Linked DNA regions of Homo sapiens: all the other regions are linked to region 1. The links are contacts of gene promoters, found by promoter capture Hi-C in blood cells and fetal thymus (Javierre and others, 2016). All regions are on one chromosome and are shown on one strand. Each heading gives the region's core, a stretch centred on a gene start or on the middle of the fragment in contact. The rest is flanking DNA. Distances are from core to core; before and after follow the strand shown. Region 1 holds the start of MINDY2-DT (MINDY2 divergent transcript). Region 2 overlaps LIPC (lipase C, hepatic type). Region 3 overlaps LIPC (lipase C, hepatic type). Region 4 overlaps LIPC (lipase C, hepatic type).

What was found. Contacts are between HindIII fragments. The CHiCAGO score rates a contact against its expected background, and 5 or more counts as called.
Region 2: a contact is called between a fragment that was not itself captured here and the fragment with the promoter of MINDY2-DT in region 1, in 4 of 17 cell types (total CD4 T cells, erythroblasts, fetal thymus and 1 more). The highest score is 8.0, in total CD4 T cells.
Region 3: a contact is called between a fragment that was not itself captured here and the fragment with the promoter of MINDY2-DT in region 1, in 1 of 17 cell types (naive CD4 T cells). The highest score is 5.4, in naive CD4 T cells.
Region 4: a contact is called between a fragment that was not itself captured here and the fragment with the promoter of MINDY2-DT in region 1, in 1 of 17 cell types (fetal thymus). The highest score is 8.4, in fetal thymus.

The regions. Positions count from the first base shown.
Region 1 is chr15:58,769,521-58,773,083 of GRCh38, forward strand. It overlaps MINDY2-DT (MINDY2 divergent transcript), which reads right to left and starts at 1,454. Exons shown (of 2, transcript NR_135474.1): 1 at 867-1,454. It overlaps MINDY2 (MINDY lysine 48 deubiquitinase 2), which reads left to right and starts at 1,782. Exons shown (of 9, transcript NM_001040450.3): 1 at 1,782-2,715. The coding sequence starts at 1,876. RefSeq lists an enhancer at 719-1,644 and a silencer at 1,457-1,736. The HindIII fragment of the contact is 12,290 bases long and covers 1-3,520 here.
Region 2 is chr15:58,437,932-58,441,260 of GRCh38, forward strand. The region is part of intron 1 of LIPC (lipase C, hepatic type); the gene reads left to right. The region is part of intron 2 of LIPC-AS1 (LIPC antisense RNA 1); the gene reads right to left. Among named protein-coding and RNA genes, the nearest start is that of LIPC, 7.6 kb to the left of the region's middle. RefSeq lists a silencer at 1,084-1,324. The HindIII fragment of the contact is 7,142 bases long and covers 1-3,329 here.
Region 3 is chr15:58,490,852-58,494,177 of GRCh38, forward strand. The region is part of intron 1 of LIPC (lipase C, hepatic type); the gene reads left to right. The region is part of intron 2 of LIPC-AS1 (LIPC antisense RNA 1); the gene reads right to left. Among named protein-coding and RNA genes, the nearest start is that of LIPC-AS1, 6.2 kb to the right of the region's middle. The HindIII fragment of the contact is 801 bases long and covers 1,442-2,242 here.
Region 4 is chr15:58,463,373-58,466,957 of GRCh38, forward strand. The region is part of intron 1 of LIPC (lipase C, hepatic type); the gene reads left to right. All of the region lies in intron 2 of LIPC-AS1 (LIPC antisense RNA 1), which reads right to left. Among named protein-coding and RNA genes, the nearest start is that of LIPC, 33 kb to the left of the region's middle. RefSeq lists a silencer at 772-861. The HindIII fragment of the contact is 1,662 bases long and covers 692-2,353 here.

The DNA.
Region 1 (3,563 bases), core at 204-2,703:
GTAATACATATTATGTGTGGCCGGGCATGGTGGCTCACGCCTGTAATCCTAGCACTTTGGGGGCCGAGGTGGGCAGATCACGAGGTCAGGAGATCAAGACCATCCTGGCTAACACGGTGAAACCCCGTCTCTACTAAAAATACAAAAAGTTAGCTGGGCGTGGTGGCGGGCGCCTGTAGTCCCAGCTACTCAGGAGGCTGAGGCAGGAGAATGGCGTGAACCCGGGAGGCGGAGCTTGCAGTGAGCCGAGATCGCGCCACTGCACGCCAGCCTGGGCGACAGAGCAAGACTCCGTCTCAAAAACAACAACAACAACAAATTAGCCAGGCATGGTGGCGGGCGCCTATAGTCCCAGCTACTCGGGAGGCTGAGGCAGGAGAATCGCTTGAACCCGGGAGGCGGAGGTTGCAGTGAGCCAAGATCGTGCCACTGCACTCCAGCCTGGGCGACAGAGAGAGACTCCGTTTCAAAAAAAAAAAAAAACAAAAGCAAAAACAAAAACAAAAAAACATATAAGTATGTATTAAAAAATAGCAATAAGAAAAAAAAAGACAGTAAGCTCCATGAAGATATAAGCTCCGTGATCCACTATGGCATCTCCAGTGACAGACAGCATCCAGCAACTTACTTGGTACTAAAATGTATTAAAGGAATGAATGAAATACTACTTTGCAATCTTGTCTGCCTTCTCTAACCAACAGAGGTGCAAAAATATCACATTCTAATTATGTATCAGGTATTTATATGTCTGCGAAGGAAGACCTGTCTCGTTAATTTTTTATCCCCAACAGCCTAGAAAATGTTGAAAGAAAAAAGATGGGGGAAAAAGCCCTTTTCTGTAACAAGTTAGAATAGGACCCACATACATTTTGTTACTAACAAAACGTCCAGCTTGTCTTTCTTCTTTGAAAACTGCATGGCCTTAAGAGGAGTCCATTCTAATTAGGAAAAAAGTCACCTTTTCAGAAGCAGGCGCTTCCCACTCCATGCAAAGTGAAGCCAAGTTAGCAAAACCGCAAAGACTTGGCTAATTCAAATACAAGCTAATTTATTATTATTGGCGCAAATTAGCCACTTTCTTTTGCTACGCATGTCAATGTCCACAATCATACCGACCCTTTCCTGTAGGGCGAATGTCTCACCAGTAGCTGGTGAGAAGCACAGCTCTTCTCAGCCAAAACCGACAGAGACTGGAATTTGTGCAGTGCAGTAATCCAAAGCCGTCGAGTAGATATGCCTGCTTTAAAATCTGCATCTCGTAAGAAATGCCTTAATTTTCCATATTAGGAGCTGAGAAACCAAGTCCCCTGAGCCCTTCAGGGACAAGTTCTTTTCCAAATACTACAACCACCTCCAACCACCCAACAATGCCTCAGGCCGAGGGTGGGCCACACGCGACCCAGCGCTAAAGGGTCACAGCCAAGCTGTCCGCCTCCTGCCTTCCCTTTAAAGAAGCCGCACACAAGGGAGCTGCCCGGGAGTTCAACTTCCGGCCACATAGTGAGAGGATGTTTTCCTACTGGAGCTGAGCCGCGGGGGCGCGCCCCCCGGCCGCGCCCTCCTAGCCACGCCCTCCACGCCCGGCCTTCCGAGAGCGAGCTCGGTCGGACGCACGGAAAGGGCTGGGCCACGTGGGCGGCTGCTGAGTGGTTCGCCTTCGCCTCTCAGCGCGCAGTCAGGCGGAGGCAAGCTCAGAGCGCACGGACAGAGCGGTAGCGCGCGCCCGCGCGCGTTCTTAGTACTCTCCCCGGTGACGTGCCTGACCGAGGCCGCGCCAGGGCGCTGTTGCTGCCAATACAGCTGTCATGGCGTCCAAGGCGCTGGCTGCGGAGAAGTGGCCGCGGTCTCCATAGAGCTGGGGGCGGGCGGCCCGGTATGGAGAGCAGCCCCGAGAGCCTGCAGCCGCTAGAACACGGGGTGGCGGCCGGGCCAGCGTCAGGGACAGGTTCTTCGCAGGAAGGGCTACAGGAGACCAGGCTCGCCGCTGGTGATGGTCCTGGGGTATGGGCGGCGGAGACCAGCGGCGGGAATGGGCTGGGGGCGGCGGCCGCCAGGAGGAGCCTCCCGGACTCGGCTTCTCCCGCGGGCTCTCCTGAGGTTCCCGGACCCTGCAGCTCCTCCGCGGGTTTGGACTTGAAGGACAGTGGTTTGGAGAGTCCTGCTGCCGCCGAGGCGCCTCTGAGAGGGCAGTACAAGGTGACCGCCTCCCCGGAGACAGCCGTGGCCGGAGTGGGTCATGAGTTGGGTACCGCCGGAGACGCGGGAGCCCGCCCGGATCTCGCCGGCACCTGCCAAGCAGAACTGACCGCCGCCGGCTCCGAAGAGCCCAGCAGCGCCGGCGGCCTCAGCAGCAGTTGCAGCGACCCGAGCCCTCCTGGGGAATCTCCGAGCCTGGACTCTCTGGAGTCGTTCTCTAACCTGCATTCTTTTCCCAGTAGCTGCGAGTTCAATAGTGAGGAGGGAGCGGAGAACAGGGTCCCTGAGGAGGAGGAGGGCGCGGCGGTGTTGCCCGGGGCTGTTCCTCTGTGCAAGGAGGAGGAGGGGGAGGAGACCGCTCAGGTGCTGGCGGCCTCCAAGGAACGCTTCCCGGGACAATCTGTGTATCACATCAAGTGGATCCAGTGGAAGGAAGAGAACACACCCATCATCACCCAGAATGAGAACGGACCCTGCCCCTTGCTGGCCATCCTCAATGTTTTGCTCCTGGCCTGGAAGGTACATTCTGCAGCTTTCTACTTCCTACAGCTTTTGGGGTGGAGGAAAACGGGGTGAGGGAGCTGCTGCATGTCAGGTGATGGCTTCCTTTCTTTCCTCATTCATCAGTCCCCTTCTTACATGAAATTCATTCCAAGACTTCCATGTTGAAGGAATATTCCTTTATACATATATCGAAAAGAATTGCCCCTAACCTCAGTCTTCTCTTGTAGTGTTTAAGAGTTCAACATTCAATTGTGGTTGATACACTTAGAAACAAGAAGGACTTAGAGCATCTTAAATCTTATGATTATTTTAAACTATAATTTCCTACATTTTCTTACTGACCTTATCACATATGCAAAAAAGTGAAGAATTGGAGAAAGTAATCTTCAGAAGTTACCATCAATCCGTGATATCATGGACTAAGTTTTCATGGTTATATTTAGTTTGATTTCCAACTAATGCCCCATTTGTGTGTAGATACTTAAGAGAATGGTGATGGGGAAGATGTGGCTCTTTAGACAAATTCCATTTAAGGAAAAGCATTGGTCTGAGACCCAATTACCGTAACTTCTTGGTTTTCAAAGATTGTTTTCATTTTATGCATGATTTTTACTTGCCTCATTTCTTTGGCTCTCCTTAAATGGTTTGGCATTATTACCAGTAACCATGCATCCGAATGTGTTAAGGGAGCTAAAACTCTAAAGAACTAAAATAAGAAAAGGTATGTCTAAGGTGAAGGAGCAAAAAAGGGAAAGACCCTTAAAAATAGGTATGTTGAGGACTCAGAGCGAGTTACCTGTCAAATGAAGTGTCTCATTTAAGCTTGCAGTGTTAGGGTGCTGAGAAGATGCATCTCACAGCAC
Region 2 (3,329 bases), core at 735-3,234, 330 kb before region 1:
ACCCTGGAGAGACGGGGGACAGCAGCCTGTCCTCCACTCTGCTTGCCTCTCACAGAGACCCAGGACTGGAACCCATATTCTTTCATTCTGAGCTGGAGAGAGAAACTGCAGGGCTGACGGTTGAAGGCATGGGGTCTGTAAGCTGACCCGAAAACATGAATCGCCAAATGAGTGCGCAGCCAAAAGCCAAGAGAATCTGGTACCTGGCTACCCACGATGGCCCTCTCCCTGCCCTCCTCTCCACATCAGCTGCCACAGTGCTGCGGGCATGCTGGGTCATCACAGTTGGCACAGCAGGGAGAGAGGCAGAAAGAGGCTGGGCCCCGAGACAGGGCAGAACAGTCCCCATTTCATCATGAGGGGAATGCAACCACCCAGGCCTCAGCCTGGGTGTCCCTGACAGCCACGGGCTCCACGTAGAACAGAGGTCACAGCGATTCTCACAGCCAGGAAGGTACTGTGCGCTGGCCCCCAGGACAGTGACCAGTTTCGAGTGGGGCGCTCTCAGCTGGGAAATGGGGTCCAACCCACCAGGGAAAAGGGCTGACTAGGGGCCAATAGGACCCTCCAGATCCCTGCCCAGCAGGCTGGACTTCAGTCCCAAGGTGATAACTAGAACAAGGGGGCCGAGCCTAGTCTGTCCAGCAGCGGGTGGAGGAGCCGCGGTAAGAAAGGCAGTCGGGTCTTACATTCAGGTACCTACTTGGGGCGAGAAGACCAAATCCAGTCACTCCAGCCCTGGAGGAGTCAGGGCGCCCACCCGGCTGCCCCACAGAAGGTGCAATTCCTAAACATGGTCACAAAGTAGCGCAGTGACATCTCAGCTGCTTCGGAGTTCCAGGAGAGGGTTTCTGGCTCAGGAGAATGGAGTTTCTGGGTGACTGGAAGATGAGGCTGTTGGCTAACTTCCCTTTCCTTCCCACTTAGGGGTCTATTTCCAGAAGCATTCCTCATTTCATTTTTTCCCCAGTGGGGCTTGGCTAGGGGTGGGGAGGCATGGGGAAAAAGTGAAGAGAAGAGAAGGAAATGCATGGAATGCAAGCGGAGGCCTCTTTGTCTACAGCGTTTTCACCTCCACTTGTGCAGGTTCATATTCAGGGCCTGGTGAAGTCAGTTCTGGCACGGCTCTCCAGTGGACTGGCAGTGGCCCTTAAAAATAGTTCTCAGGAAGATGTGTAGGTGGCGACGCTGAGTAGTGTTTATGTCCCAACATGAAGAGCAGGCCTCATTGTGTGTGTCCTGTGATTACAACTGTGTGAAAATACATGTGTTTGAGAAAAAATGCTGGAAGAAGATGCATGAAAATGTTTATACGTCCGTTGAGTTTGTATCTGAACTTTTGTCTCTTCCCCTCTTTATGTAATGTTATAGTATGTATATGGTATATTGACTTTCATGATTTAAATAATCAGAAAATAAATTTACTACGAAATGATAAAATAAAGGAGTTTGACTAGATCAGTGATCCTGGAACTGTAGTGGGTAATGAAGCACCTAAAAGGCTGCTTTTTTTGTTTGTTTGTTTTTCCTGAGACGGAGTCTTGCTCTGTCGCCCAGGCTGGAGTGCAGTGGCACAGTCTTGGCTCGCAGCAACCTCTGCCTCCCGGGTTCAAGCAGTTCTCCTGCCTCAGCCTCCTGAGTAGCCGCGATTACAGACACACAACACCACGCCCAGCTATTTTTTGTACTTTTAGTAGAGATGGGGTTTCACCATGTTGGCCAGGCTGGTCTCGAACTCTTGACTTCGTGATCTGCCCGCCTCAGCCTCCCAAAGTGCTGGGATTACAGGCGTGAGCCACCGCCCCCGGCCAGGGCTTATTAAAATAAGATTCTGGGGCCCTAACTACAGAGTTGCTGATTCAGTGAGCCTGGGGTAGACTTGGATATTTACGTTTCTCAGCAGTTCCCAAATGATGCTGCTGGTGTGGGGACCACAGAGAACCACTAGAGAAAAAACAAAAGAACCAAGACTTGAAACTAGGTTACTGACTTCCAGGCTAGGGTGCTTCCTACAGAAACAACACGAGGCTACAGGGCAAACCTCACTTCACTTCTAACTTTCTAGGGTTGAAGGGGTGAGAATCAACATCCACTGCTCCTGGATACTGACTTCTTCCCCAGTAGCTACAACCCCAAAAGTATTTAAAACCCCAAGATATTTGTGAAAATGTATTTGTCCAAAATAAAATATCTACATGCTAAAAAGAAAGCAGTCCTTGAAATGAACAAAAATTCCCAAGCTGAGCATTACTTGTAATTGGTAGAAAAATAATCATTGCAAAAGCTAATTAACCATCCACCCTGAGCGGCTCCTTGGCAGGCCTGAAAATATGATCAGGAAAATTCTTTTCCTATGAGTGAGGCATTATCAAAGCAGGGCAGAGCCTATGGGTTATCCGTTGACTAGGACTGACCTTTCCGTGACTGCCAAAAACTTTCCAGTGACAAATGTTCCAGCTTCCTTGTCCCAAGAGAAACTAAAGTGGTAAGAAAACAAACTGCTTTATACTGAAACATAACAAGATCAACAGCAGCTGTGACAGCATTTATTAAACTGTCCGCTGTGTACCAGGCCCCATGGTCAGTAGGAAAGTATATCCCTGAGGGTACAAAAATGAAAAAGCGTACATCCACTCACCAAGGACTTCCCACTGTGCCAGGGTCTCTAGCCCCTTATGGGGTGTGTGTGGGGGCAGGGAGGTTGGAGATTGGGAGAGGCGCATAATTTCAACACAATGCAATTAGTTTGTAAATAACACTACATGCAAAATGTTACAAGAGCCCTGAGGCAGCGCAGGTTAGCTGAGAAGCCTTTACAGAGGAGGTGATATCTGAGTTGAATCTTGAAGTTTCCTTCAAGAAGTGGAAGGACATTGTAAGCAGAGGGAAAAAAAACATGAACCAGCCTTGCTTGACTCAGAGGCTGGAAAAGGGAGAGTGAAGTTGGGAATTCTTGAGATTTTGGGGTGGCCCTGGATGGGGTACATAAAAAGAAGTGGCCAGAGGGAAGGACAGGAAGGGCCATCCTCAGAAGTTTTGTCCTCATCCTGGAGGCAGGGCAGACCACTGATGAGGGGGGTTGTTTTTAAAAGGCTGCCTTTCCCAGATGGATTGATAGACTTATCTCAGCCTGGCTAAAACCCTGGCCACTCCCTGATAGAGAACAAGGTTCCCAGCAGGCAAGGGCAGGGGTGGGGCCCAGCAGGGACCAGTTTTGCAAGCTCACCTGGCCCTACACCCGCAAACACTCAGCTTTTCCTCCAAGACAAGCCTCAAGGCTTGGAGCAAGTCTCTTTGAAGTTTTCTTATGAATTGCTATGCTTAACACT
Region 3 (3,326 bases), core at 592-3,091, 280 kb before region 1:
GCAAAAATTTCAGGTCTCTGAGAGCCCAGAGCCTGAGAAGTGTGGAGGATACTAATTACACCCAGGTGGAAGCCTGGCCACAGCTCACCTCCTAAGGAAAGAGCGAGCCCATTAAATAGCCAGGAAGGAATGGAGTTCACAGGGGATTAGATTTCTAGATTATAGCCTCAGAGTCATTCTCAAATTTATCTCCTAAAATCTGGAGGTCAAGGAACAAAAGCACCCTTGAAGAACAGGTAAAGGGAGCCTGGTCTGAATTCTTAGCTCCTGACAGCCAGGCCGCAAGAGGACAGACATCCCGTGCACACACGCCCGCCCCATCGCCAAAGAAAGCTCTAGAGCTAGACACTTAGACTGGCCTTTCATGAAATGACAGCACCTGCCAAACACAATAGGGAAATAGTTAGTCCAGCCAGGCAGTGCCATAGAGTGGTCAGAGCATGGGAATTTCAAGCAGACAGCAGCAGGCTTTAATCCTCACTCTACTCTCCCCAGATGTGTCACCAAGGCAAGTCACTCAGCTTCTCTGAGGCTCAGTTTCCTGGCCTGTAGAGTGGGAATAATTATAATACTATCTTGGTTGTCAGGTTTAAAAGACCAAATGAATGTCACTGCCTGGCAGACTACTTAAAACAATAAGAGGTGCTAAAGTTACTTTAAACCAACCCTCTCCACCCTCTCCTTCCCCACCTCAGTTTCATACCCCAGAGACCAAATTCCTGATGGATTCCTAAATGATATCTCTGCCAAATACTGGTGCCAGGTGCTGGGCAAGGCACAGTTTTGCAACCAGCTGTCAGGCAGCAACAACTTCACAGTCGTACTTTTATTCAGTGTGTGGTAAAACTTCTGGGACAAGAGTCAAAGTCGTAGGGCTTTAGTGGGAAACTGCCATTGCCTGACCAGAGGTACAAAGCACTGGCCCTTCCCTCATCCCTGGCCTGACCTAAGAGGGCTGGGGTACCACAGGACTGTTGACCCCACTGAGAGCTCAGGGTGCCAGAAACACTGCCTGCCACGTGATTCCTATTGGTCCTTCCAGAGATGCTAACAGGCCTGGAGGCTGGAGGTCTCTCTGCCCACACTTTCACACATGACCTGGAGCAGGGGGTCCCAGCTCTGTAGCTGCATTTCTGACCCAGTTGGATACCTTGACATGGTCCCAGCAAGCAACAGAGCACCCATTGTACAGCCTTCCCCAGCCCCAGAGAGGGACTGTCCCTGCCAAGAACAGAGGTGCCACCCAGAATCTGACAGCAGGGGAGGCTCCCCAAGCATTCTACCCAGAAGAACAAGCACCCTCCCCAGATGGCCTGTGGCCCACCCTGCCCTCAGTTCCTAGCAGATCCTCAACTTGGCCTGCTTTGATGTTTGTGAATGGCAGGTAGGAAAGGTCAGGCAAGTGGAAGAAACCTAAAACCATGCTCTCTATGGCCATGGAAGCTTCCTAGGTATTATTACATAGCTGTAGTATATTAATATTACTGTCATTAATTGATATTATTGTAATGTTACTATAATATACATAGCCATAATATAAACACATTATAAAGCTGTAATAGCTTATCTTTATTCTACTATGTGGCAAGTCTGTACTAAGCATTCTCCTACTCTAAACCCCCACAAAAGTATTAGCTATGAACTATCATTGAATTTCGTTTTACAAACAAGGACAATCCAAAGAGGCCAAGTTACCTGCCCAAGGCCACACAGTCCACAAGAGCCCAAGTTCCCACTCAGGCCCATTCTTTTAGCTCTGTGCCACCCAGCTCTGCAAATGTAGCCACCCAAAGCCAATCAAGCCAGTGGTAGAGTTCTAAAACCAAATCTAGGGCTCTGTCCCACCAATCTCCACCTGGTGCCTGGAATTCCTCTATTTTTGTTTTTTGTTCTGTTTTGTTTTAAAGTTTCACTCACCCCCCTCCTTAAACCCAAATATCCCTGGGACAGGATGGAAATCCATAAACAGGTGCCTGAGTAAGACATCATTCACAGAGCCTTTTCCTCCTGACAGCTGGCCAAGAACAGGAGAGGGGGCCCTGGGCAAATCTGCAGGATTACATCAGAGCTTATTTTCCCCCGTATGCCCCTAATTTTCTACATGCTCTTCCATTCCTGATGGATTCCTAAATGATATCTCTGCTAAATCCTGGCGCCAGGTGCTCTTCCATTCTCCCAGTGATCCAGAACTTTCTTGCTGTCATGAAGAAAACTGATTTAATAAGTAAACTCATACTTAGGAAGCTTCCCATCCACCCTGGCCCCCCATGGTATCTCACATCATCATCAGACCAAAAGAACCCATACCCTCATCAGTGATGACTCAGCAAAATCAACTTCACATGATTAGGAAGCTCACATAACTAGCAAGGCGAGGAGGTTCTCTCTGCCGGCCACCTCCTCCCGCCAGCACTCCACCACAGCCTGCCTACTGTCTGCCCGTTTGGACTAGCAGCTGGTGCTGTGGGATCTTTAACTCCACTGAAATTATGTCACAAAACTGGGGCATCGTAGGGAACCTAGGAAAACAGACAAGAAATAAAGACTCCATATGTGCCTGGCCCACACCCGAGTTTGGCTCACTATGCACACATTAGATCCTGCCATTCACAATTTAAAATATATATATATTTTTTTGTGTATATATACATATATACACACCTAGAAAAAAAGTATGTATTTTGTATATATACAAAATTTATTACATATAAATAAAATTTATACAAAATTTATTACGTATAAATAAAATTTATACAAAATTTATTACGTATAAATAAAATTTATACAAAATTTATTACGTATAAATAAAATTTATACAAAATTTATTACGTATAAATAAAATTTATACAAAATTTTGTATATATTTGTATATGTGAAATATTTTTTAAATGTTAATATATCTATAATATTTATATATTTGAATATATAAGTTTATATATATTTATATGGCTCACTATAAAAGAAATTGAAACCTCCTTAAGCATGAACAACTCCCACGGGTGTTTTCTTCATGAGACGCACAGGAAGATGGCAATGGGTACTGAAAGGAATGAATTGCTTGTGGGGGAACTTTATTTACTAGAACAACCCCAGGTAGGAGGAGAGGTTTTAAGAAATGAGAGTAGGGGTTCTGGAGGAGGTCACCTTGCCTCCTAGTACAGAGGTAAGACTCCACTGAGGCTGGAGAATAATGCTCATGAGGAGATTGGCAGGCCCCAGATCCCTGCAGCTACTGGGACAGAGGCTTCAGTTCCTTGCCATGGGGGCCTCTCCCTAAAGCTGCTCACAACATGGCAGTTGGCTTCTCCCACAGCAAGAGAGAGAAT
Region 4 (3,585 bases), core at 273-2,772, 310 kb before region 1:
TCTGTGACCCAGACCACACCAAGCTTTCAGAAACTGCTCTGCTCTTTTACTCTCCCACTCCTCTCCACCCTCTCAAGCTGTGCTATATCCACAATGCACCAGCCCAGGCTGACTCAACTTCCCGCCCACTGCTCCCCTTTAAGCTACAGCACCCACCATTTTGCCCCAAACTCGTCTATCCTACCTGAGCTCCTGCAGCCAGACTGGGTCACCCATGCCCCTCCTCTAACCAGGAAAGAAAGGAAAGAATCCATCAGGTCTTTTCTGTGTCCTGAGATTGCGCAGGTATTCACCCGCTCCACTCCCATCTCCTTGACCTCTTTCTTGCCCTGTTTCTCGGCGACCTAGGCATTGGGTCCTGGTCAGTTTTCCACTTTTCCATCACTCCCTTAGGACCCCTCAACCTCTCTGCTCATCAAAAAAGTCCAATAAAGGCATTCATCTCTTTGAATACTTAATTTTACAGTACCTCTTGCATAACTTTCAAGTTTGAGGTCAATACAAATAAAATCATTTAAAATGTCTGATATTAAACACTTCTGACCCGAAAAGCAAAAAGCCTTTTAACAGATAGTTACATTGATACAAGAGTCCACAATGACAGGTTTCAAAGATGAAAGTAATGGATCAGTAAATAGAACAGTAGAGAAAACACAGATGAAAGGCAAATAACCCCACCTGAAAAATCCAAAGCTTTCATTTTTTTTGAAAAAAAAATTGTCAAAAGCACTGTATTATTTTTTAAAATCATGATAAAAGGAGCATGCACCTGTCACCCTCCCAACCCCCTCTATACTTGCCCCTTTCTATCTTTAAGTGCTGTGGTCTTTGTGGTGACTTTATTGGCTCAAGTTTCCTAGGCTGGTACTCTCAGAGCCTGGTTTCCTAGGAGCAGTACTCATAACGCAGGTGCGATGGACACCTGTAGGTGGGTAGTGCCGCCTGTGTGAACCAACTCGGCTCCAAAGAGCCTAACTCCCTATCTGCATGGTTAATCCAATCAAAGCCCAACCTGCTTTCCCACACAACAGAGTTCAACAGAGCTTTTCATTAAAGCAACACATCATAGCAAATACTTAACTAGTACAAATAAAGCATTTTATTTAAAGCAAGGTTTAAAGACATATAAACATTAAGCATCAGAGCTCCATTCTTTAGTTGCTATTCATCACAGCTTATGCCAGTCCTTGAATTCTGTCTAACTTGGGTAGTAGCCAATTTTCTAACTCACCTTCAACTTCTTGGGATGAGTCCTTCCCGGGCTCCTTGTTTTTCTAGAAATTTCAGTGGCTTGACCACACATCAAAACACACAGGGTGGCCAGGCATGGTGGCTCACACCTGTAATCCCAGCACTTTGGGAAGCCAAGGCGGGCAGATCATCTGAGGTCAGGGGTTCAAAACTAGCTTGGGCAACATGGTGAAACTCGGTCTGTACTAAAAATACAAAAGTTAGCTGGGTGTGGTGGTGTGCACCTGTAGTCCCAGCTACTCAGGAGACTGAGGCAGAAAAATCGCTTGAACCTGGGAGGTGGAGGTTGCAGTGAGCCAAGACTGTGCCACTGTACTCCAGCCTGGGCAACAGAGTGAGACTCTGTCTCAAAAATGGGGAGCGAGGGGGGAGCCCACCACACAACAAAACATATAGGGCTTCTCATCTAAAGTCCGAATAAAAGAATAATACTATGGCTGGTTTGCACTGGAGGAAAGAAAAGCCCTATCACTGCTACCTTACTTTTCTGATGTTTTGGGTTCCTATGTCTTATCCCCTCAGGAACCAGGGGAAAAAGAAGATTCTGTGTCAAGTGCACCCTACATCTGTCCATGTCACCCCCCTTCTTCCAATCAGAACAACTCATTTCCCCCACTTGACTGCTCCCCTAATCTTTGCACCTTGGAGCAGGATGTGTTTATTGATTGATGGATATTTACTTATAATTGGTACCTCTTATGAAAGCCAACAGTTTTTACATCTGGCTTTTAACACAGACTGTGCTCTTCAATAGTCTTAGTGTAGACTGAAGGTTTTTCAAATTCACATTTTTAGAAAAGAGTTCCATTAAATTCCACATGAACAACAGAAAAAAATTTAAATGGGACATTACAGTGATCAATTATAGATTGTAGGACATGACTGACATGTAGGGCTGGGCTGGGAGGAAGAGACAAAGACCAAATGCTCAACCAAGGGCAGAGGTGAGGTGTAGATTACGGGTCAGAACCGTAACATAACGGATGGAGTCCCAAGTGAATCCAGGAAGTTGGAGGAAGCAGGTAAGTACTTGGGTTAGGCATTCACAGGCCTAGGAAGTCAGCTGGGGCAGGAAGGCTCAGACAAGGCAAGGGGACCAGGAAGCTTGGACCCGTCCTGGGAAGATAGAGTCCAAGAGGGCAGTCATCACCGGTCCCACACTAAAAGCATCAAAGCTCTCTAATCTTCTGTCTTCTCTACTCTCTCTGGTGTGTTGTCAAGGAAGGAATAGGTACGTGGGAAACTAGGGAGACAATCATAGCCCTCGATGTCTACCGTTTCTAATTAATACAGGGCAGAGGAATTAGATCTTTTGGTAGAGATCTAAAATTCCTCTGAAGTTCTATCAAGCCCCATCTCCTGATGATTCAGTGCTAGTTCTAAAATAGGAAAACTTACTTCCAAAACCAACAGATGTTTGGGCTGTCATCATTATGCCTGTACTAAACTCACTTGTGATTTCACTGTGAAGTCCTGTCTGTGTAATTTATTAGGAATCATTTATGTAAGATTATGTAGAAAATGTTACTAGTCGTGAGATATCTATCCATCTCAATGATTTGACTTTTACAGCAATGCGATGGGACGTGCTGAGGGACCATTTGGTCAACTTTCCACCTAATGGTGGTGTGATTAGAACTCCTAGCGGGTGACTCATAGAGAGTGATTAGAAGTAAAAAGGTTCTGGAAATTCCCCCACACTCTTTAAGGCAGCCTTTGTCAGGTGTCTTAGTTTCGTGAAAGGTAGACTGATGTTTTCCATCTGGTATACAAAACATTTTCTAAGTAGTTATAGAACCTTGAACAAGCCACTTAGCTCTCTGGGCCTGAGTTTTCTCATCTTATAAAATTAAATCCATCAATAGATCACATGATCTCTATGGCTTCTTTATTCTAAGGATGTATGGTAATTTTAAACACTTGGTTAGCCATCTTGACCAAACTAGCATCACAGGTAAGAAACAAGCTGCGAAGACCAAAATTCTTCTCTGGTTTATACACTCTGGGTCAGAGGCAACCACTTTCTATGTTGTTTGGGCTACTTTTCCCTAAACACATAATGGCTTTGTCTGCATCAAAGGTCATCTTCTATTTTCCTGCCCATTCATATGACCCCATAAGACCTTCCAGCATCTCAGTCAGCTGAGCATTTTACCTCCTGCAAAGCACATGGTTTCCTTCTTCTCTTTGCAGGTCATATGAAATGCTCACACAGTACTTACTGTAATCACTTCGTAAAGTTGATTTTCACATATCTTCATCCAGAAAATTATCCCAACTGTTATATATAACTTTATTCTAATTGAATAATTCCAGTTTTCAAGACACTTTTCA